Linked DNA regions of Homo sapiens: all the other regions are linked to region 1. Evidence: promoter capture Hi-C in 16 types of primary human blood cells and fetal thymus (Javierre and others, 2016). All regions are on one chromosome and are shown on one strand. The core of a region is centred on a gene start or on the middle of the fragment in contact, and the rest is flanking DNA. Distances in the headings are between cores, read along the strand shown. Region 1 holds the start of PTMS (parathymosin). Region 2 overlaps ATN1 (atrophin 1). Region 3 overlaps CHD4 (chromodomain helicase DNA binding protein 4). Region 4 overlaps LPCAT3 (lysophosphatidylcholine acyltransferase 3). Region 5 overlaps LRRC23 (leucine rich repeat containing 23).

Evidence for each region. Contacts are between HindIII fragments. The CHiCAGO score rates a contact against its expected background, and 5 or more counts as called.
Region 2: a contact is called between a fragment that was not itself captured here and the fragment with the promoter of PTMS in region 1, in 4 of 17 cell types (activated CD4 T cells, non-activated CD4 T cells, naive CD4 T cells and 1 more). The highest score is 7.3, in activated CD4 T cells.
Region 3: a contact is called between a fragment that was not itself captured here and the fragment with the promoter of PTMS in region 1, in 9 of 17 cell types (total CD4 T cells, naive CD4 T cells, activated CD4 T cells and 6 more). The highest score is 10.3, in total CD4 T cells.
Region 4: a contact is called between a fragment that was not itself captured here and the fragment with the promoter of PTMS in region 1, in 1 of 17 cell types (non-activated CD4 T cells). The highest score is 5.2, in non-activated CD4 T cells.
Region 5: a fragment that was not itself captured here is called in contact with the fragment with the promoter of PTMS in region 1 in 2 of 17 cell types (activated CD4 T cells and non-activated CD4 T cells); the score reaches 6.2 in activated CD4 T cells.

Annotation. Positions count from the first base shown.
Region 1 is chr12:6,765,113-6,767,812 of GRCh38, forward strand. It overlaps PTMS (parathymosin), which reads left to right and starts at 1,251. Exons shown (of 5, transcript NM_002824.6): 1 at 1,251-1,638. The coding sequence starts at 1,594. RefSeq lists silencers at 1,116-1,445, 1,556-2,055. The HindIII fragment of the contact is 8,838 bases long and covers 803-2,700 here.
Region 2 is chr12:6,930,315-6,933,014 of GRCh38, forward strand. All of the region lies in intron 1 of ATN1 (atrophin 1), which reads left to right. Among named protein-coding and RNA genes, the nearest start is that of ATN1, 3.7 kb to the left of the region's middle. The HindIII fragment of the contact is 1,254 bases long and covers 739-1,992 here.
Region 3 is chr12:6,586,278-6,588,977 of GRCh38, forward strand. It overlaps CHD4 (chromodomain helicase DNA binding protein 4), which reads right to left. Exons shown (of 40, transcript NM_001273.5): 23 at 2,021-2,145; 24 at 1,435-1,672; 25 at 1,107-1,282. Among named protein-coding and RNA genes, the nearest start is that of CHD4-AS1, 19 kb to the left of the region's middle. The HindIII fragment of the contact is 7,516 bases long and covers 1-2,700 here.
Region 4 is chr12:7,008,853-7,011,552 of GRCh38, forward strand. All of the region lies in intron 1 of LPCAT3 (lysophosphatidylcholine acyltransferase 3), which reads right to left. Among named protein-coding and RNA genes, the nearest start is that of LPCAT3, 8.3 kb to the right of the region's middle. The HindIII fragment of the contact is 3,708 bases long and covers 1-2,700 here.
Region 5 is chr12:6,909,262-6,911,961 of GRCh38, forward strand. LRRC23 (leucine rich repeat containing 23) reads left to right here. Exons shown (of 8, transcript NM_001135217.2): 6 at 629-765. Among named protein-coding and RNA genes, the nearest start is that of ENO2, 4.0 kb to the right of the region's middle. The HindIII fragment of the contact is 2,135 bases long and covers 298-2,432 here.

The sequences.
Region 1 (2,700 bases), core at 1-2,500:
AGCCTTCCACTCTGTCCACCTTCCTGACCTTTAATACACAACCCAGCCCCTGTTCCCTTCTGAAATCCCAAGCTTTTCAAAATGACTCAAAGATACCGAGATTGAGGGCGAGGAGCTGAGGATGTGTGGAATAGGGTGGGGCTGGAACTCCAGACCTGGACCTGTATTATATTTGCAAAGGAGGCAAATATAACCCAGAAAGGCTAGGGAAGATGGCAGCAGAGGAATGAGAAAAGCTGAAGGATGGAAAATGTAAAAAATGAGGACAGAAAGAGGAGTTGAGGAAAGCCAGCCAAGAATAGAGGGCCAGGTGCCTGACTCAGATAAGACAAGAGCAGGGTTGTCTGGGAAAGATAGGGAAAGAGACCAGAGGTGGAAGGGCAGAAGAGAGTCAGTGAGGAGTGGAGAAGAGGTGAGAGAAGAATGGGAGCGATTCGAGTTATAATTGGTTGTGAAGGAGGGGTCTAGGTACAGATGACTGAGGACGGATGAAGAGAAATAGAAGGACCAGGCGAATAAAAGTGAGGTGAGACGGGCGAATAAGAGAGGTAGAAGATGGAAGAGAGCTGGAAGACAGCAAAGGAGACCAGGGGGCCTGACTCCCCCCGGCTCACAGCACGGGGCCAGGAAGGGAGGCACCCGGCAAGGGTCACAAGTGTCAATCTGGCGGGACAGAAGGCTGGGCCGCCCTTTCTGCCCTCCCATCCCTCCTCAAGGCCATCCAGAGAATGTGGATGGAGGATGAGAGGGGGAAATCCGGCGTGGTGTGGAAGGAGCGCCCGAACCCTCTTCCTCTTCTTTAAGCTTTTGGTTTCTCAAATACCTGCCCTATCTTCCCATCTGCTCCCCTCACCCCACCCCTTGGCAAAATCCCAGGGCTTTTTTTGGGGTCAGTAGGATTCTGGCCACCTCTCCAGTCCGCCCCCAAAAGCCAGACTCCACATTCGCAGGCAGTAGGTTGGGATTTGGAAAGGTGCCTCCCCGCAGGAACCCCACCCCTTCCCACCTCCTCGCCCCACTCTTTCTCCGCGGCCGTCAGTCTCTCCATTTCCCCCTCCTGGTCTCGTCCTCCCTCCCGACTCCCTAGCTCTCCCTCCCCTCGCTTTCATCCTCCTATCCCCACCTCTCCAACCTCCTCTTTCATCCCCCTCCCCTCTCCTCTCCTCCCCGCTCCCGCCTGCCCCACCCCTGGGAAGCCCCTCCCGTCGGGCAGCGCCGCCTTATAAGCGGGTTCCCTTCCCGGGGGCGGCAGCGGCTGGTCGGCGGCAGCTCTGCTGGTGCGGGGGCGGCGAGCCCGGGATCGAGCTACCGCGGCCGAGCGCGCCGGCCACCGCCTGCACCGCCCTTCCGCCCGCCCTCCGGACGGCCGCAGCCCTGCGGGTCTCCGCTCCAGACCCACCCCCGCCCCACCCCGCGCGCCTCTGCCGCCTCTTCCAGAGACCCAGCTTGCCGAGCGGCCGCCGCTGCCGCTGTCGCCGCCGCCGCCGCCACCGCGCCAGGTTCCGGCCGCGGCCACCCTCCGCCGTCCAGGGCCCCTCCGTCTCGGCCCCGGGACCCCGGCTCCCCGCCAGCCCCGGCCCCGGCCCCGGCACCATGTCGGAGAAAAGCGTGGAGGCAGCGGCCGAGTTGAGCGCCAAGGTACGGGCGGGGGCGGCGGCGGCCCGGACCTCGCGCAGCCCTGGGGCCCGGCGCGGTCCTTCGCCCCAGGCCGCCCCCGACGGCCCCGCGCGGCCCTTGCGCCCGGGTCCTGGCGGACCCCACTGCGCCCTCCCACCGCTCCCCGGCCCGGAGCTCCTTTCCCGGCTCCGCGCGGCTAGCGCCAGCGCCCTCTAGCTGCCCTGCGCGCACCACGGCGCCCGGCCTCGCCGCTCCGGTCGCGCCGTCCCCCGCAGCCGTCCCCACCCCTCTTCGGCCCCACCTCGCTGACCGGATCCCGTCCGGCTTCCCGTCCGAACGCCCCGAGTCTCACTTTGCCGCGCCCCCTCCCTGCGCCCCGCTGCCGCGTCTTTGCTTGCAACCTGACCTCACCTTTCCTCGCTAAGCGGTTTGAGATCCTCAAGTGTAAACAGGACTCTCCCTGGAGGCTGCTCCTCCGGGCCCCTCCCCGCGGCCCGACCGTCGCTCGCTTCTCTCCCCGGACGGCGGCCGCCTCTGTTTTCTCGTTCCCTCCCCTCAGCTGGCTTTCAGCTTTCTTTTCTCTTCATCGTCCCCTTCCCGCATACACACTGAAAGAATCTCGAATTCCTAAAAATTAGAAGCGGGGCAGGACTAGCCTTCGAAAAAGCCGAGGCTGGGCATTGCATGGCATTGCGTCGAGCTGTCCTCGCCCTCATCAGCTCCCTTCCCCGGCCCCATCCGTTCGCCCTTGCCTCTCTTCCAGCCTTCCTCTAATTTCCCCAGGGAACCTGCGGAGTGTCGCTTTGGGAAATTAACGCGGCCGGGGTTTGGGGGCTGGGAGCCCTATCTTGTGTGTGTATGTGTATGGCGGGGGGGGGGGGCGCGGTGGTTGCTGAGGGGCCGTCACACAGGTCTCCCGGAGGCCCGCGGAGTGAAACGGGGGGAGCCAATGGGATTAACGGCGGTGGGAGAGGGGCTGTGTGCGATCTGCCAAGGTGCGCCCGTGTGGCCCTCCGGCGGGCTGTGCGGTGGCATGTGACTTCACTGAGTAGGTGTCTTTGTATGTCTGAAATCCAGCGAGTG
Region 2 (2,700 bases), core at 116-2,615, 170 kb after region 1:
TGGGGGCTGGGCCAATGATCCTGAAATTTAGCCTGCGAGCCCCTCCCAGAGAGCTTGTGACTCCACTGTATTCCTTCTGACATCCCATATTTCTCTCTTAATTTCTTTTCCTGTTCTTACTTAGGGGCTCTTTTTCTAGTTCTCACTTTCCTCCCAACCCAGTCTGGTCTTAATCATTTTCTTTTTAAAGTAAGGTAATGGCAGTGCGCAGTGGCTCACGCCTGTAATCCCAGCACTTTGGGAGGCTGAGGCGGGCGGATCACGAGGTCAGGCGATTGAGACCATCCTGGCTAACACGGTGAAACCCCGTCTCTAGTAAAAATACAAAAAAATTAGCCGGGCGTGGTGGCGGGCGCCTGTAGTCCCAGCTACTCAGGAGGCTGAGGCAGGAGAATGGCGTGAACCCGGGAGGTGGAGCTTGCAGTGAGCCGAGCCGAGATCGCGGCACGGCACTCCAGCCTGGGTGACAGAGTGAGACTCCGTCTCAATAAATAAATAAATAAATAAATAAATAAAATAAAGCAAGGTAATGAAGGTGAATGTGCTTAGTATGTGGCCAGATACAGAGTAGGTGCTCTGTAATATTAGTTACAGTGATTGCCTGCTAGGAGTGTAGGCTGGTGCTAAAACATGACCCAGGTCTAGAAAGACACACAATCCACCCCTAACTCCTTTCCTCGTCTGCCACTCCTTATCCCCAGGATTACTTGTTCTTTTATGACTGCTTTTCTCCTTCAAAGCTTCTCATTGCTAGTTTTTATCAGATTTCAGGTGATTAAAAAAGAAGGGCATACTATGATTGCTGTGTTCCTCAGGTACATTCCTGTGTTTCTCTGACCTTTTGGATCCCCTAACCTAACTGACTTGGTGAACAGGTTCTGTGATGGGGAAGGGAGATGGACACCCTTCTCTAGGAGGGCTGGCAAAAATACACCAATCACAAATAGTCATCTTTGTTGTGCTTTTTGTTTAAGATTGTTTTCCTCTTTTGCTATGGTGGGTGTTGTTCTTCGGATTTTTTTTTTTTTTTGGTTGATAGTATTTTAAAACCAGTCTACATAACAACTAAAAAATGTGGGAAAATAGCTGTAGTTGAAAAAAAAAAAAAAAAAAAAAAGGCCGGGCATGGTGGCTCACGCCTGTAATCCCAACACTTTAGGAGGCTGAGGCAGGTGGATCATCTGAGGTCAGGAGTTCGAGACCAGCCTGGTCAACATGGTGAAACTCCGTCTCTACTAAAAATACAAAAATTAGCCAGGTGTGGTGGTGTGCGCTTGTAATCCCAGCTACTTGGGAGGCTGAGGCAGGAGAATCGCTTGAACCTGGGAGGCGGAGGTGGCAGTGAGCTGAGATCATGCCATAGCACCTCCAGCCTGGGGAACAAGAGCAAAGATCCATCTCAAAAAAAAAAAAAAGGAAAAAAAAAGAAAACTAGTTGGCCGGGCACAGTGGCTCACGCCTGTAATCCCAGCACTTGGGAAGGCCGAGGCAGGCAGATCACCTGAGGTCAGTAGTTCGAGACCACCCTGACTAACATGGTGAAACCCTGTCTCTACTAAAAATACAAAAAATTAGCCGGGTGTGGTGGTGCATGCCTGTAATCCCAGCTATTCAGGAGGCTGAGGCAGGAGAATCGCTTGAACCTGGGAGGCAGAGGTTGCAGTGAGTGAGATCACGCCACTGCACTCCAGCCTGGGCAACAAGAGTGAAACTCTGTCTCAAAAAAAAAAAAAAAAAAAAAAAAAAAGACAAGTCTACTGGGCAGAGCATCAGTTGAAAGTTCAGAAGATAGGCTCTGTCCCAGCAATTTTGTGATTCTAAGTAAATTGTGAAGTTTCCTGGAAAGGTTAGACTCACCCCTTACTGCCTGCATCAGTATGGTTCCGTGGAGGTGAGTGAGAATTACTGTGTTTCTTGGGAAAAAATACACTACAGAATATGGACATGCCGTTTACCTAGCAGGCCTCCAACTCAGAATAGAATACATGGGTAAGCTTAGTCTGTTCCCACTGGAGCTAGCAGCACTTAATTCAGGAAGAAAGACCTACTGATGTTAGTGGGTTTAAAGGTCAATCACAAGAAGAGCGCACACACATCAGTGGAAAGGAAGAAAACAGTAAGAAAATACCATTTTTGCTCTCAAAAGATCTTACAATCAGTAATTTGGAGGGACTTGACACTTAGCAAGAAATACAAACAAGTGCAAATGAATACAGCTGGCTATAGGGATTTGGATAAAGATAGATACCTGCTGATAGACAGATACGGATGGATTGGCTGTGAGAAACTGTGTAACCCAGTCTACACCAAGTAGGAGGATAGGCTTAAAAACTGGTACATCTGTGTTGTTTGCTCACGGATATTTTGAGTCTTTAATCATTCATGTGAAAACCCTGACTTTTCCTCTAGCCTTAGGGAGCTCAAGTACTAGAGAATGGGTCCTTTATGGGGCTCTCAAAAATGAAGTTCTACAATTTGGGGCTACCTAGGTTTAGTCTTGGGATTGGTAGGGCTGTGTTCCTTTGTATTATAGAATGGGACATTCTTCTTCTACCTACTCTGATGTGAGAAAAGATTCTTTTCATATCTCTGTGACTGATCTAGGCCTTCTGAGAATTCTCCCCAGCAACTTCTGAGGAGAATACAGCAAAGTATAGAAGAAAGAGCATGGGCTTTGAAGTCACCGACATGGGTTTGATT
Region 3 (2,700 bases), core at 53-2,552, 180 kb before region 1:
TAGTCCCCAGCTACTCGGGAGGCTGAGGCAGAAGAATGGCATGAACCCGGGAGGCAGAGCTTGCAGTGAGCCAAGATCGCACCACTGCACTCCAGCCTGGGGGAGAGAGTGAGATTCCATCTCAAAATAAATAAATAAATACATACATACATACATACACAAGGAGGCCTGGTGTGGTGGCTAACACCTGTAATTCCAGCACTTTGGGAGGTCAAGGCAGGAGAACTGCTTAAGGCCAGGAGTTCAAGACCATCCTGGGCAACATAGCAAGACATCTCTAAAAACATTTAAAAAATTAACCAGGTGTGGTAGCACACATCTACTAGGGTCACTCTTCAGCCCAAGAGTTTAAGGTTGCACTCAGCTATGATTGTGCCACTGCACTCTAGCCTGGGTGACAGAGCAAGACCCTGTCTCTTTTTTTGTTGTTTTTTTTTTTCAAACACAGTCTGGCTCTGTCATCAGGCTGGAATGCAGTGGCGCAATCTCAGCTCATTGCAACCTCCGCCTCCTGGGTTCAAGCAATTCTCCTGCCTCAGCCTCCCGAACACCTGGGACTACAGGTGTGCTTCATCGTGCCTGGCTAATTTTTTTATTTTTAGTAGAAACGGGGTTTCACCGTGTTGGCCGGGCTGGTCTCAAACTCCTGGCCTCAAGTGATCTGCCTGCCTCGGCCTCCCAAAGTGCTGGGATTACAGATGTGAGCCACTGCACCTGGTAGAGACCCTGTCTCTTAAATAAAAACCAGAAAACACAAAGAGATAGATTACCTAGGATCTTCTGCCTTTTCTCTAGAGAGATGAGGTAGCATTCAAAATTTCATTTGTAAGGTTTAATAAAACACATAGGAGAAAATGACATTCTGGTAAAGAGCCAAAATAACTGTTGTGAGCATGATATTTGGTTGTAAGTTTTCTGACAACCAAGGCAAAGATGAAAATCTGATTAGTCATGTTATCAGCTTTGTTTTCAAAGGAAGAGGATCAATTCATCAACATAAGAATTTGCCTACAGATATTTTCCACTTGTCTCAAATACCACCTTGGTCTCAATGCCAATTTTCAGACCAATTACCAAGCACAGGATTGCCTTGGATTCATACTCACCCCCATTTCTTCTTCCCGTACCACATACTGGGCCACTTTGAATGAGCTCAAATATTCATTCATGCCCTGCAATTCTGTGTCTTCAGTCTCATCCTGGTTACGGTCTAGCAGCCGTTCAATGGCCTTATCATCGTAGTGGATAACACTGCTATCTTCTCCCTCTTTGTTGTCTCCTCCTATAAAAAATCAAGGGCCCACATCCCCAAAGTCAGTTTCAGCAGCTGCAGTGGAAAAAGCAAGTCCCACAAGACCCTTGGTATCAAAGATTCTCCCTAACCTTTAGAGAGGCCAAGCCCCACACCAAAACGTAAGTTCCTGACTACCTCACCTCCATCAGTGGCTTCATCCTTGAATAGTTCCTCAGTGCCAAATTTGAGGATATCATCAAGCTCCTGTTTGGACATAGATCCAGTCTTGGAGCCCAGCCCAGGCCGCACCACTAGATGCGTCAGCATCATTTTCTTCTTTGCCACCTGCGTGATGCGCTCCTCCACTGACGCACGGGTCACAAACCGGTAGATCATTACCTTTTTATTTTGCCCAATCCGGTGAGCTCTGCTAAAGGCCTGGAGTTGAACAGGAAATAAAGCCAGAAATTGTATTTTCCTGGTGCCACTCTTATCCTGACTTCCACATAATATTCTAAATTCAGTACAAGGCAAGGTCCACAGCCTACATTCATAGGAAACTTCCTTTTGCACCCCTGCCTCCAGACACCACCCTCTATTATCATGTTACCCAAAATAGGATCACAGCTAACCAAACTCTGGCTTACAATAAGGTAAACAACACAAAAAGAATCTGTTGTTTCTCACTTAAAAACCTAATTCCAGATGGTGGAGCCCTCATAGAGGCCACTATGCCTTTCTAGCATAACATGTTACTTATTAAGGCTGCCTGCTGCCTCTGCTCACCTGAATGTCATTATGGGGGTTCCAGTCAGAGTCATAGATAATAACTGTGTCAGCAGTGGCCAGATTGATTCCAAGGCCCCCAGCTCGAGTGGAAAGCAAGAAGCAGAACTGCTGAGCACCCGGTGCTAATAAAAGAACCAAAAACACCATTAGAAGTGTCTCCTAAATTCCAATTCATAAATGTAGTTTAAAAAATTAAGCCGGGGGCAGTGGCTCATGCCTGTAATCTCAGCACTTTGGGAGGCAGAGACAGGTGGATCATTTGACATCAGGAGTTCGAGACCAGCCTGGCCAACACGGTGAAACCCTGTCTCTACTAAAAATACAAAAATTAGCCAGGCGTGGTGGTATACACCTGTAATCCCAGCTACTCAGGAGACTGAGGCAGGAGAACCGCTTGAACCTGGTAGGCAGAGGTTGCAGTGAGCAGAGATTGCACCACTGCACTTTAGCCTGGGCAACAGAGCAAGAAACTCCATCTCAAAAAAAAAAAAAAATTTAGCTGGGAATGGTGGCACACGCCTGTAGTCCCAGCTACTCAGGAAGCTGAGGCAGGAGAATCACTTGAGCCCAAGAGTTCAAGGTTATAATGAGCTCTGACTGTGCTACTGCACTCCAGCCTGGGCAACAGAGCAAGACCCTAACTCTTATAGAAAAATGTCAGAATAGGCCAGGTGCAG
Region 4 (2,700 bases), core at 1-2,500, 240 kb after region 1:
ATGTGAACATAATAACAATGTGAACATAATAACAACAACATCTCTTTATTCCTCAGATAACATCCAGAGCAGGAACTCTGGAGTCAGGCAGAACTGAATGTGACTTTAAGCAAGTTACTCAATTTTTGTAGGCCCAACTTTCCTATCTGTCAGGCCTACAAATGGGAAAAACTAAACCATAAGGAATCTAAGAGTTTTGTTTATTCCAAAGAGTACAGGATACAATGACCTTTCTTTTTTTTTCTGTCACCCAGGCTGGAGTGCCATGGTGCAATCTCGGCTCACTACAACCTCTGCCTCCTGGGTTCCAGCGATTATCCTGTCTCAGCTTCCCAAGTAGCTGGGACTACAGGCATGTGCCACCATGCCCAGCTAATTTTTATCTTTTTAATAGAAATGGGTTTCACCATGTTGGCCAGGCTAGTCTCCAACTCCTGACCTCAGGTGATCTGCCTGCCTCGGCCTCCCAAAGTGCTGGGATTACAGGCGTGAGCCACCGCGCCTGGCCAATGACATTCCAAAAAGGTACTATCAGGACATCAAGTACTACAAAATAGGCACCGGAAGAAATATGCTAAATTAGTAATCCTCAAACTCTAGAGTAATAAGTATAACCTGGCTTGCTAGAACAGATTACTGGGCACTATCCTCAGAGTTTCTCAATCAGTAGTTTTGGAGTAGACCAAAGAATCTGCATTTCTAACAGGCTCCCATAAGATACAGATGCTGTTGGTCACAAGACCATACTTTGTGTCTCCTTGGAAAGGGAGAAAATAAATATTTATTGACAGGGAAGGGAAGAACAATTATTTAAGATGATCTTGGGTCAAGCATGGTTAAGTGTTTACATAGTTTATCTTATTTAGTCCTTACAACATCCCAATGAGCAACAGTTCTCAAACTTTTCCAGGCCAAAGGAGAATGAACACATCACAAAAGAGTATGCCTAAGCAGTCTTCTAGAAATAGAAAATTTCTTTGATGACTGTATTACTTTAAAAATTCATATAAATTTTGTATTCTGTTTCAAAATACTGCTGCTAGTTATGAATGAAATATAAATCTAAAAATATTTATCAGATAAATTGCTTAACTCTTCATTGCAATTCTTTAGTAAAATTGGCCTGTGGGAATATAAAGAAATGGGTGGTTGAACTCTGGTAATGAGCTTATGGTGAAACAGCTAGTACATATTTATTTGATCCAGCATTTGAACCTAGGCCAGAAGATCTCTAAAGACAATGCACATGTTACTACCTTACTCTGTCATTGACCTCCACCTACATAAAAGGCCTATCATGTTTTTCTCTACTGCTCTTTTACGATCTTCTATTGTTCTGGTTAAAGAGGACTACTTGCTGTTCCTCAGATTTTTCTCAAAATTTTTTTTTCTTTTTCCTTAGATTCAGGGACAGACAGGGTCTTACTCTTCCTGATCTCCAGATTACTCTTTGTAGCTGGAAAGCTCCTCCGCTTTCATCTCTACTTTACTAGAATCTTACCATCCCCTTTAAGGCCCAGCTAAAATGTCACTTTCTTTCAGAAGACCAAATACCATTATTGATTGATTGATTGACTGACTGAGACAAGGCCTCACTCCTGTTGCCCAGGCTGGTGCAGTGATGTGATCATGGCTCACTGCAGCCTTGACTTCTGGGGCTCTGGTGCATCCTCTCACTTCAGTCCCCTGAGTAGCTGGGACTACAGACACATGCTACCATGCCCAGCTAATGCAAATATCATTTTTAAAAGGCGACTGAACTGGACGCCTCATATGAGCTCCCATGGCTGCCCAGACATGCTTTCATGTCAGTGATTATATAATTTTTTTTGTAAATTAGCTTATGCAAATAATCTTGTGGACCCTAACTTATACATGCTTCTGCAAAGAAACATGTTTAACGATAAAGTTATACTGGAATTCAAAACATGATGTTTTATGGAATGTAAGACATTGGGGTATAGATAAAAAGTGGTTGGAAAAAATATATATATTTATTTTTAGAGATGAGGTCTCCTTCTGTCATCTAGGTTGGAATGCAGTGGCATCATCATAGTTCACTGCAGTCTCAAATTCCTGGGCTCAAATGATCCTCCCACCTTGGTCTCCTGAATAGCTGGGACTACAGGTGCATGCCATCATGCCTGGCTAATTAAAAACAAAATTTATTTATTTATTTTTGAGACAGAATCTTGCTCTTTTGCCCATGCTGGAGTGTAGAGGTATGATCTTGGCTCAATGCAGCCTCAACGTCCTGAGTTGAGCGGAGGACCCCGGGCTCCAGTGATCCTTCCACCTCAGCCTCCCAAGCAGCAGGGACTACAGACATATGCCACCCAGCCCAGTTAATTTTGTTCACTTTTTGTAGAGATGAGGTATCACTATGTTGCCCAGGCTGGTCTTGAACTCCCGGACTCAAGTGATCCTCTTGCTTTGGCCTCCCAAAGTGCTGGGGTTACAGGCGTAAGCCACCGTGCCTGACCTGGAAAATTGTATTTAAAAGAAATTCTTGGCCAGGGGCAATGGCTTATGCCTGTAATCTCAGCACTTTGGGAGGCTGAGGCTGGTGGATTGCTTGAGCTCAGGAGTTTGAGACCACCCTGGGCAACACGGTAAAACCCTGTTTCTACAAAAAATACAGAAAAAATTAGCCAGGCATGGTGGCTCACGCCTGTAGTTCCAGCTACTCAGGAGGCTGAG
Region 5 (2,700 bases), core at 115-2,614, 140 kb after region 1:
TATATAATATATTATATATAATTATATATAATACATAAATATATATAATAGTATATATTATATATAATATATATAATATATAAATATATATAATAGTATATTATATATAATATATTTTATATAATATATAAATATTATATATAATAGTATATTATATATAATATATAAATATTATATATAATAGTATATAATATATAATATATAATATATATTTTATATATTATATAATATATTATATATTATATATATAATAACTCCACAGGAAGCCACTGAAATATTTAGTCTTTTAGACTCTTAAGCTTCGTTATTCTGGGATGGTGCTGATGCCAATCCTCAGTGGTGGCCTGGGGGCTCCTGGGCCGGGTAGGGGTGGGTTGAAGCATCTCCTCCATCCCAAGTGGCTTTGATGGGGCGAATGGTAGAGGGTTACTGCTGACCTTTCTCTGGGATGGCAGCTTCTCCTGAACTTCTTTACTTTCTATACTGATCTCTACTCACCCCCACTCCTTTCTTCCACTCCTCCCTCTCTACCTCTTGGATTTCCTCTTTTGCTTTATCTCATTCTGACTTCTCTTTCTTCCCTATCCCTGCTCCCTCTCAATCAATCCACTGTGCCCTGGGGGTCTAGGCCCAAAACATGCTGAAGAAGGTGGAAGGCTTGGAGGATCTGAGCAATCTCACCACCTTGCATCTTCGAGACAACCAGATTGACACCCTGAGTGGCTTCTCCAGAGAAATGAAATCATTGCAGTACCTCAACCTGAGGTATGCACCCTCTCCAAGCCCCACCTTGCCCCTACCCCTGACCAGGTGCAGCTTTTGAGTCTGTGTTCTTCCCTGGCCCAATCCCCCAGTCCTAGCCCACAGCTGGATTCTCAAGGAAAGCCCGGCTTTCCTTCCTTTCTTCTGCACTGAGTTGCAACACTAAATCCCTTATAGCTTGTGACCCCTGAATTTTTATTCATTCAATCCACAATTATTGAGAATGTGCTATGTGCCAGGCCTTGTGCTGTGTTTTGGGGACATTTAAAGCAATCAGAGGCTGGGCATGGTGGTTCATGCCTGTACTCCCAGCACTTTAGGAGGAAGGATCACTTGAGGCCAGGAGTTCAGGACCAGCCTGGGCAACCTAGTGAGACCATGTTTCTACAGAAGTGAAAATAATGGCCCGGCATGGTGGCTCACACCTGTAGTTCTAGCACTTTGGGAAGCCGAAGTGGGCAGATCGTTGGAGCCTAGGAGTTCAAGACCAGTCTGGGCAACATGGCAAAATCCCATCTCTACCAAAAATACAAAAATTAGCCAGGCATGGTGACAGGCACCTGTAATCCCAGCTACTCAGGAGACTTAGGCGGGAGGATCGCTGGAGCCTCGAGGTGGAGTTTGCAGTGAGCTGAGATAAAGCCGCTGCACTCCAGCCTGGGTGACAGAGCCAGACCCTGCCTCAAAAACAAAACAAAAATAAAATATTAAATAAAAATTAAAATATTAAATTAAAAATAAAAATTAACTGAGCCTGGTGGTGCACACCTGTGGTTTCAGCTACTCAGGAGGCTGAGGTTGGAGGATCACTTGAGCCCAGGAGTTCAAGGTTGCAGTGAGCCATGATTGTGCCACTGCACTCCAGCCTGGGTGACAGAGTGAGCTGTCTCTAAAAGAAAGAAAGGAATCAGAGGTGATTCCTGTTCCTAAGGGGCTCACAGTCTGGCTCCAACTCTTTTTTCCTCACCCTATCCTATATAAGTTTCCACTGCCCTTCTCCATTTCCTCGGTCCCAATTCACCTTCCCATTTCCTGCCTCTCTTCTCCTGAGCCCCACCTGTAAGGGATGACCTTTTTACTGATTAAAAAAACACAAGATGTGCTCAGATTTGAGGAGAGAAGGACATTTGTAAGAAAATCTTTTGGTAGAAAGGCACTGAAGATCAGCAACTCTTGTCGGATGGAGGACTTTATGTGTGTTTATTTCAGCAAACATGTAAGGAAACTGCCTCTTTCCTTAGTCAACAAGACCAGATTCTTGAGCTGGTAATGGAAAGAGCATCTCCAAGTAGGGAGAGGTGGTTGCATCTGGAAGCCCCAACTCTCATCCTGACCCCCTGGGCATTCTCTTATTCATGAACTCTGCCACACGGATCTGGTGGGGTGTGTATCTGTGCCATCTTCCTGTTAATGATCTAGACAGGCATGATGGACCCTTCCTGAGTGGCTATTAAATGGGGATGTTTTGAGAGTAAGTCGGGTGTGTGTGTGGAGGGGGGTGAGGGTGTCTCAATGATTGGCAGGTGCCTCTGGGGCCAGAGATGCTAAGCATCCAACAATGTATGGCAGAGTCCAGTACAAAGTTCCTGTAGCCCTCCTGGTGAGAAACACTGCATGAGGCTCAGCACGACCATGAGATCAGGCTGAAACACTTAAATAGATTTCATAAAAGCTTAAAGCCAGAACATGAAAATAAATAAAATTCCAGGCATGGTGGCTCACGCCTGTAATCCCAGCACTTTGGGGGGGCCAAGGCAAGAGGACTGCTTGAGGCCAGGCGTTCAAGACAAACCTGGGCAACATAGTGAGACCCAGTCTCTACAAAAAATTTAAACATTAGCCAGGTGTGGTGGCACATGCCTGGAGGTACTTAGGAAGCTAAGGTGAGAGGATCACTTGAGCCCAGGAATTCAAGGCTGCAGTGAGCTATGATCATGC